2 separate regions of the Homo sapiens genome follow, and region 1 is linked to region 2. Evidence: promoter capture Hi-C in human tissues and cell types (Jung and others, 2019). All regions are on one chromosome and are shown on one strand. Each heading gives the region's core, a stretch centred on a gene start or on the middle of the fragment in contact. The rest is flanking DNA. Distances are from core to core; before and after follow the strand shown.

Region 1 (6,772 bases), core at 2,999-5,498, 80 kb before region 2:
AGGTGTGTGCGGGGGTAGGGAGGTGACGCAGGTGTGTGCGGGGGTACGGAGGTGACGCAGGTGTGTGCGGGGGTAGGGAGGTGACGCAGGTGTGTGCGGGGGTACGGAGGTGACGGAGGTGTGTGCAGGGGTACGGAGGTGACGCAGGTGTGTGCGGGGGTAGGGAGGTGACGCAGGTGTGTGCGGGTGTACGGAGGTGATGAGGTATATGTGGGGGTAGGGAGGTGACGCAGGTGTGTGCGGGGGTACGGAGGTGATGAGGTATATGTGGGGGTAGGGAGGTGACGCAGGTATGTGCGGGTGTACGGAGGTGATGAGGTATATGTGGGGGTAGGGAGGTGACACAGGTGTGTGCGGGGGTACGGAGGTGACGGAGGTGTGTGCGGGGGTACGGAGGTGACGCAGGTGTGTGCGGGGGTACGGAGGTGACGCAGGTGTGTGTGGGGGTATGGAGGTGATGCAGGTGTGTGCGGGGGTACGGAGGTGACGGAGGTGTGTGCGGGGGTATGGAGGTGATGAGGTATATGTGGGGGTACGGAGGTGACGCAGGTGTGTGCGGGTGTACGGAGGTGATGAGGTATATGTGGGGGTACGGAGGTGATGCAGGTGATACTGGTGTATCCAAATTGTATCCTTCTGCTCTTCCTCTGCTGAGGGGGCTCCAGACAGAGTGGGGTCTACCCAGTCAGCTTGGGGATCATGAGGGGTGCTCAGTGAGCAGAGGACAGTGGGAGGTGGTGGGGCCCACGAAGGAGGTCACCAGGGGGCAGCGAGTGGGTGGTCGGGGTGGTCACCTGCTTCTTGGCGGCTGCATCGCTGTAGCACTTGTGCTGGATGTAGGCCGCTCCCAGCACCTGCAGGTTGGGGTCTGAAGCCATGAGGTACTTGACTGCTGAGGGCAGGTCAATGTCATCAAAACTGCGGAGCCAGGGGTCAGGGGTCAGGCTAACTTTGGGTTCAGGCTGGGCCCGTGGTAGAAGCCCCCTCCCTGAGCCGGGCCCAGCCGCTCACCCGCTGCTGAGTCTCTGCAGGGTTCGGTGGCTACCGTAGCTGTTGAACCCATGCACGTCCGGCAGGTGGCCCGAGTCAGCCAGGCTGAGGCTGAGGCTGCGCACAGATGGCGCTCGAGCCACTGGCTCCAGGACGGCCCCCGGCACTGCCCCGCCTACCCCGCGGCTCCGGTGGCTGCTCTGGAATCGCTGCAGGGTCCGCACGGCAGGGGCACGGATGGTCCGGCTCGGGGAAACCTCAGTGGCCTCGGGCCAGTCCAGCCCCCCTGCCCGGCTGGAGCTGGAGCTGGCCTGGCGCTCGTACGCAAAGGCCCTGTAGGTGGAGGTGGCCGCGGGCTCCAGCTGCTCAGACACCAGGCTGTAGCGGTCGTCCAGGCCCCCGGGCCCCAGCCGCAGCGAGCGCAGGGAGAGTGTGTCATAGTCGGCCCGGCTCCCAACCCCACCGCGCTCATGGAAGGACACGGGCCTGGTGGGCATGGGAGGGGTGGGCTGGGCACCCCCGTACCCAGCGGCCCCAAAGGCGCTGCCCCCGTTGTGGGCTGAACTCAGCCTCCGACTGCAGCTCAGATCCACGGCGGAGCGGGAGGACCAGGAGGCTGGGCTGTAGGCCGGCTTGGCGATGGGCCGGAAGCCCTGTGGGTCGAGAGGGGGCGGTGAGGGCGTGCCTGGGCTCACCTGTGTCCGGGCCCGCTGCAGAGCCTCCCACTCTCCAGACTGCAGAGCTCAGATCGTCCCCCTCGGGCTGGGCCCATCGCTCACCGAGGTCTTGTCCCCACTCAGGCCCTGAGAGCGAGAGCTGAAGCCAGCCTGCAGGGTGTGGTACTGCCCCCTGGATGTGCCTGTGGAGAGGGACGGTGGTAGCCCAGCTCTGCCACACAGCAAAGCACTGGCCTCCTGCCTCCTCTCCACCACTCCATCGCTATTGGCAACCCTAGGAGCAGCCTCCAATCCAGGGCAGGGAGGCCAGGGGGGCACCAGGGCCAGTGCCTCCCCATTCCTGCCATGGCTTGGTCTCCTCACATGTCAGCCCTGGTGGTCCATCTTCCACAGCCCACCCCCCAGCTGTGCCTCCTCTACCCGAGAGGGCAGATACGCTCACCCACTGACCTCCTGGTCGCCAGGAGGAATGTGCCAGGGCCTCTGACATCAGTTCTCCAATCCTTGCCATGGTACAGTGCCCAGCCTCCTCCAGGAAGCCAGCCTGGCCTGCCCCGGCCCACACTGACTCCTTTTGAGCCCCTCCTGTGCCCAAACCTCATCTGTGCCCGGTCACAGGAGAGTGACACTGTCTCCCTGGACCAGTATGCCCTGTTGCAGTGCCCTGTCCCACCCGGCAGAGCCTGAGGCAGGGGCCACACCCACCCCGTCCAGCCACACACACGCCAAGGGCAGCTGCGTCAGCCCGACTCCACAGTGAGTGGACAGACAGGTGGGTGGGCAGAGGGTGGAGGGCGGAGGGTGGATGGAGGGACAGGCAGGAGGAGGATGGGAGGGCTGCTGTGACTGCTGGAAGGATGGACAGAGTGGTGGATGGAGGGGTGGGACAGCCGTCGACGACAGGGTCCCATGGTTGGATGGTGAGTGGGCAGAGGGATGGACTCGTGGATGGGTGCAGAGAGGATGGGCTGATGGTGGGGGCATGAGAAGGCCCACCAGAGCGACCTGGCTGAGGGGCTCAGGGTGGGGTGCAGGGAAAGGGGCCGTGGCCCTCCCACAACTCTGCCCAGAGCTGGATGCTCTGTGGGGGACACCCCCATGGCAGAGGCCCCAGGTTCACCCTGGTTAATGGGGCTTCTGGGCCGGGGCTATTAACCCTCTGACGCTCGTGAGGCCCAGCCCGGAGTGGGGGCACGCCCCAGCCTGGGGACCTCACCCCCACCCCCCAATTATAATCCACCTCCCTCTAATTGGCAGGGCAGCCAGGGTGGTAATTAACCCTTCCCTCACCGTCCTCCACCCCATGACCCCTGGGCACCCGACTTGGTCACCAGCAAGGCTGAGGCCCCTGGAGGGAGGACCCCACAGTCCAGGCCGCCGGGCCGGCCCCTCCGCTGGGCGACCTTCACTTCCCCCTGGCCAGTGGCTGGAGGCCAGTCCTGGGGAAGGCCCCTCTAAACACCAAGTGGACCATGATGAACTGGCATCTGGGTCCCTGGCATTCTGGGAGGTCCATCTTACTGTCTAACCTTAATCCCTGTTGCTGTAGCCTGGGAAGGAGGAAATGGCGTTCCTAGAACCACTGCCTTCAACTCACAGCGTCTGTGCTCCTGTCACTCACACTCACACGCATGCACACACACTCGCGTGAGTGGGGCCAGGATTCCGCCACAGGTGGGTCTGGCTGGCACCGAGGGGTGCTCCTCCACCTGCTGTTCCCACAGAGAAATCTAGGTCACTCCAGCCGGGCCCTCCCCTCTAATTCCTCAGGGAGCCCCTGGTCCAGACAGGCCTGGCTTTCCTCCAGGACTTCCAGCACCCCCACACCTCTCCCCGCTTTCCCGTTCTGCTCATTCCCGTGAGGTATGGGAGGAGCGTGGGTGTCTGGGTGTCCCTGAGACCCTATGTGAGTCTGTGCTACCGGGGCCAGGCGCGTGCGTGTTCCGGGTTTGCCGACCGAGTGGCCTGGCCCGCCTGCCATGTGCCAACCTTCCCTGTCATCCCCCACAGGGATGGCTCCAGGACTCCAGGCACAGGTGGGGCCTGGCCAGGCTCAGTCTTTGGAGGACCCCGGGGTCCCTGCTTGGACAGGGCAGCCCCACCCATGGCTTCTCCCCACGCCCCTGGGGCGGGGTGTGTGACTCAGTGTGAGGCCTGGTGAGTCAGGAGCCGGCCTCACTGCGGCCTCTGCCCTCACACTATCACGTCCGCCCGCAGCCACCTCTCCCCGCCACCGCCATCCCCGCCGCTGTCCCCACCGCCTACCTCTGGCAGTCTCGGCCTCAGGCTCGGGCTCAGCGGCCCCGTTGTGCCGCGGCTGCTGTCCCAGCTGCAAGAGGCGGGCGCGGACCTGCTCCTGGACGCGGGCTGCCCGCAGCCGCTCGGCCTCCGGCCCCTCGGCGCCCCGGCGGTCCAGCTGCAGGTCAGAGGGCAGCGCCAGGGAGCACACGCCGGCCTCAGGCTGCAGGGCCGACAGCAGGAAGTTACCGTCCTGCATGGCGGCAGGTCCACCGGGCCTGGGCCTGGCGGCCGCCTCCAAACCCAACTATCTTCACGTCCTGTCCCTCGAGGCCCTCTCCCTGAAGTCCCCGCCCAGCCAGCCTCACCCAGAGCCGCCTGAAGACAGACGCCTGCCCAGCCCTGAGCGCAGCTGGGGGCGGGGACACCTGGCCAGGTGGGAGGGAGGGGCCGCCGCCTGCTTAAGGTGGAATTTGGGCGGAAGAACAGGCCCTGCATGGCCCCAGGTCCCAGCCTGGCCTCCCGCCTCCTTTTCTCCCATCCCACAACAGGGCCACGGGGACCTGGGTCCTTCTTGTTCTCAGCCTGTAAAGGCCAGACCGGGCCCTTTGTCGTGGGGCTGGGACAGAGGGGCCCTCTGTGTCCTGAGTGTCAGGGAAGGGCAGGGGGCCTGCGGGGGGCCTATGTCCTGCCACCCCCAGCATGAAGGGGAGGGTGCCCCAGTCCCTGGGGGTCTAGGGCCCTAGGTAGCTCCAAGAATCAGCCAGCCTCCATGGTAGCCCAGCCTTCCTGGTGAGGTGGGGATGAGGCCTAGGAAGGGTTGGCAGGAGACACTGTCGGGAGTCAGGGGTCAGTGCCAGGGATCAGGACAAAGGCTGGAGGGACAGAGCTTTAGGGTCCAACGGGACTCCATGGAGGCCCTGGCCCTGGTCCTTGGAATCCAGCGAGCCCCCTCCGCACCAGGAAGCATGTGGATGGACCGGCCCTCCCCCGAAGCCTGCAGACCCTGGAACTCACCCCCAGGACCCCCTCACCCCCTACAGAGGCCTCCAAAACCCTCTCTGGCTTCTGGGACCCTGGCACCACTGCTCCTGCACCCCAGGCCCTGGGGTGGGAGGCCGTTCCCAGCACATGAGTCAGGGTGCAGGGGGGCGGGGCCGCCCCAGGGGGTTGACTCAGAGGGCCTGCACTCCTGTCAGCGCATGTCAGGCTGGGGCAGGAGCGGGTGTGCAGGGAAGAACCAGGGGTCTGGAAGAGCAGAGGCCTGGATGGAGAGGGAGCGAGGGTGGGGGGCCCCTGGTGGGGGTGGGGTAGTGGGGGGCCCCTGGTGGGGGGGCCCTGGACCAAGCAGGGCTTGTGCCCAGAAGGTCTCCTTCTAGCACCACAGCCAGCAAATGGGCTCTGAGGCCCTCTAGCCTCTGGGACAAGCCCCTGGTAGATGGGGGTGGGGATAAGCCTAGGAGGGCTGGGGGTGGGAGCTGAACATCTATGACAACCTCTGGGCTTCTCTCACGAGCTCATCGGACAGCCTCTGCTTCTCCCTGGACCCTGGACCCTGGCTCTGGGCTCTCCTCCAGGGCAGACCCTTGCCCCCTAGCTCCGTCCCTGGAAGATTTTTGCCTTAATGGGGCTGGGGCAGGGGTCTGGCGTGAGGGCCGGGTCAGGGTTAGGAGGCAGCATTAAGGGTGAGGTCAGTTCTGAGGGGAGGAAGCTGGAGAGTAGGAGTCGGAGGTCAGCGTGGGGGGTTAAAGGGGGAGGGGAAGGTCCACTGAAAGGATGGGTGAGGCCCGGGCTGGGGCCACCAGGTGGGGTCGGGGTGGTGGGGAAGGGGTGGGAGACCTACCCGGCTCGTGGTCCGGATCCCGCCAGCCTCCCAGCTCATCCCAGAGGCCACTGCTGACGGCCGAGGTGTCCAGGACTCCATCCCTGGCCCGGCGCGTGCGGGGCAGCCTCTGCGGCGGGGACAGGACTGTGGGGGCCTCGGAGGGCGGGGTGGGAACGCCCAGCTCATCGGACTGGCTGATTCCCTGGGAGACAGGTTTCGTGTGGAAAAATCCTGGGAGACAAGTTTGTGCGGCGCAGAGCGGGCCTGGAGGTATGTGCCTGGCATGGGCTGGGTCCCGCCCTGCACCCAGGTCCACCCCAGGCCCACCTGGGGCCCTGCAGGGGCCAGGCTGGGCGGCATGAGGGGGAAGCCAGCCTGGAGGGCCTCTGCAGCCCAGTCAGGCCGAAGGGCTCACAAGAGGACTCAGTGAAGGGGCTTCCGTGCGGCTGGAGCTATGATGGGAACGCCGGTACCCCGCGGCCTGCAGGGCCCCCAGGGCCGACTCTGCCCACCTTCCCTCCTCCCCTTGGCAGAGAGGGCTGTGGGTGCCCCCCCCCAGAGCTGCGGCGCCTCCCTGAGGATGCGTGGTGCCCGCCAGGCACAGTTTTGGCAAAGCCAGGAATCTGGGGTGCACCTTCCCTCACTGCGGCCGGGCCAGACGGATGGCGATGCCTGCTAGGCCACCGCTGCAGCTTCCAGCTCCAGGCTCGGCGGAGTCTCATCTGATCCCTGTGACCAGCCCTGAGGGTCGCACTCTCCCTGGAGCCAGCTCCTGACACAGGAGCCCTGGAGGGGGGCTTGACGGTAGGCTTCCTGGAGGAAGCGGTTGTCTGTGGGGCCCGGAATCTGCACGGAGCCTCGGGCCGCTTGGGTGCACAATCAGGTTGAGAGCCTGGAACCTGAGGGCCTCGAAGGGTGAGTGAGCGCTGCTCTTAGATGGGTCCTGGGTGGGGTGTGGCCTGTCAGTCACCTCCCAAGAGGCGGTGGGAGAGGGCGCAGGAGGGCTTCGGGGCATGGTGGGCTCAGCGTGGGGGGCACGGGA
Region 2 (2,500 bases), core at 1-2,500:
ATGAAGTCACAGCATCATCACAAGCACGTGCACTTTATTGAATGACACTGTAGACAGGTGTGTGGGTATAAACTGCTGTATCTAGGGGCAGGACCAAGGGGGCAGGGGCAACAGCCCCAGCGTGCAGGGCCAGCATTGCACAGTGGAGTGCAAAGGTTGCAGGCTATGGGCGGCTACTAGTAACCCCGTTTTTCCTGTATTATCTGTAACATAATATGGTAGACTGTCACAGAGCCGAATACCAGTAACAGGATGAATCCAATGGTCATGAGGATGCCCAGAATCAGGGCCCAGATGTTCAGGCACTTGGCGGTGGAGGCATAGGCCTGGGCCCCGGTCACGTCGCCAACCATCTTCCTGTCCCTAGACTGGGGGAGAGGAGATGGTGAGGGGACCAGGATCCCCCAGCTGAGAGCCGCGTGCTATGGCTCCGTCTCCTCCCCGCCCTGAGATCAGGGACCACCTCCTCCCCTTCCTCACCCGGGCTCAGACTCTCCAGGAGCCTCGGGGCTCATCCTCCTTCTGCCTTGGCCCCAGCACAGGCTGTTCTCCCCACCATGGGGTGAAGTCACCTGTGAGTTCCCTTCTCACTTTCTGGGAGAGCCTGGGTGCCAGTCTGGAAGGTGAGGGTGTAATTTCTTACTGGGCTATAGGGAGAATTGCTCTGGGCTAATGGATAGCCAGGGACAGACTCTGAGCCAGCCAGCCAGCCTCCTGGAGCCTCCTCCTAGACCTGCACTGGGCAGATTCCCCAAAGCCACACACACACACAGATCACACAGACAAAGCTACTGACGTGAGCACACACGGGGCAGAGGTGCACACAAACTCACAGTCACAGGGACACACAAGTCCCCACCCCAGGCAGCATGTGGGCAGGTGGAGCCCCAGGCTCACCGGCACCCCCTGGATTTCCGCCAGGGCCATACGCACCTTCACGGAGTAGGCGAATGCTATGAAGCCCAGACAGCACCAGTTCAAGAAGAGGGTGTTGAACAGGGACCAGACGACATGGTCGGGCACGGAGGTCTCGCTGTGGATGTTGATCACGGTGGACCTTGGAAGGATGGTGCTGGGGGGTGGCCCCAGCACAGCCACCTCATGTTCCTCCTTGTGCATCTTCTGGCTTTGGGGAAGGAAGTGTTGAGTGAAGGTTTGAGAAGTGTGGTTTTCTGCGTGGAGCGAAGGGCCGCTGTGGTGTCCGGATGCTGGGACGGTGCTCAGTGAGACCTCCTTTCCCCTGTCGTTTCAGTTTCTCAGAAGTGTGTATTTCTCTTAAGTTTCTATTTCCTGCTGTTTGTAAATTGGTGAATTAGCCAGGGACCAATGAGGTGTGGTTTAACTTCTTGAGGATCAAATTACTTTATGGCAGGGTGGGAGGAAAGGCTGAAGGCTAAGGAGAGAGGCTTCCTCATCAGAAACTCAAGTCAGGACTAGTGACTTCCTAAGTGTTGGGTTTAGGGGGCCCTGGGGATTTTACCCAGGCTTGGGTTCTGTCCACCCCAGGCCAGCAAGTACAGGACCTCACTGTCCCGGTTCAGGGCCCCTGCCAGGCCCCCACACTCCAGGCGCCAGGACAATCCCCCAAAAGCCCTCACCTCACTTGTCGCAGGCCTCTCTCCTGAAATCCTTGCTCTTTCCTCAGGCTGCAGTCCTGCTCTGTGCGGGTTTGGGGACTAAACCTCCCAGTGTCTCCTGGTGCAGGTCAGAGGCCTGGTGGCCAAAGTTTCCTGCCCCAAAGCAGCCCTCCAGGCCCAGGAACGGGGACTCTGGGGAGAACTGACTCCCCAGAGGGTAGTGTGTTGAGACACGGGGAGGATTCCAGGGCCTGTAGGGGCAGCTTCAGAGCACAGGGCACACATGTGCCACCCCCTACCTTCCGGGTCCCAGCAATTCCCATGGCTTTGGTTGGGGTGAGTGCTGGATGACCTAGGCGTTGGGTCCTAGCCATGCAGGAGAGACCTGGAGGGTTGGCAAAGCCAAGTCTGGGGCTGTCAGGCCTGGGTGCCCCTTCACAGGGACGGGGAATTGTAGACTGAGTAGCAGAAGGGAGCCCTCAGGCACAAGGATCATGAATTACAAATTGCAAATTACATAAAGGAAAAATCAGAGCCCAAAGGTGGGCCTGCAATTATTAATGTAATGTTCTTAAGTTCTCTTTCTGCTTTCGTTTCTGCCTGCTTTAAGTCTGCTGTTACTTTTCTACAGAGATAAAATCCACTGTTTGCATCCAACCATTTCTTTTTATTGTTTGTGTAAACCAATGAATTTGTATTACTATCTCATGGCTGGAGTTCTGAAGTAAAACCATACTTTTGCTTGAGTGTGTATGTGTGTATATGTGCACATACACATATTTCGTTATGTGTTTTTGGCCACAAGTTACCAAATTTAGCTTAAACTTAAAGAGTACTCATAAATTAAATAATAAGCCTAAATGCTTTTCACGTTCATGTGACTTAAGTAGAATCTTTAATAAGCTAGCTTTAAAATTACTGGT

What was found. Contacts are between HindIII fragments. The study calls those that stand out against the background at their distance.
Region 1: a contact is called between the fragment with the promoter of PKP3 here and the fragment with the promoter of IFITM1 in region 2, in 16 of the 25 tissues and cell types used here (H1 embryonic stem cells, IMR-90 fibroblasts, adrenal gland and 13 more).

What each region holds. Positions count from the first base shown.
Region 1 is chr11:391,685-398,456 of GRCh38, reverse strand. It overlaps PKP3 (plakophilin 3), which reads right to left and starts at 4,248. Exons shown (of 13, transcript NM_007183.4): 1 at 3,933-4,248; 2 at 1,770-1,849; 3 at 1,012-1,643; 4 at 795-918. The coding sequence starts at 4,164. RefSeq lists enhancers at 1,545-2,074, 4,033-4,795. The HindIII fragment of the contact is 50,700 bases long and covers 1-6,772 here.
Region 2 is chr11:312,790-315,289 of GRCh38, reverse strand. IFITM1 (interferon induced transmembrane protein 1) reads right to left here and starts at 1,250. Exons shown (of 2, transcript NM_003641.5): 1 at 934-1,250; 2 at 18-368. The coding sequence starts at 1,119. The coding sequence ends at 177. RefSeq lists enhancers at 257-416, 947-1,286, 754-1,309, 1,310-1,865. The HindIII fragment of the contact is 8,559 bases long and covers 1-2,500 here.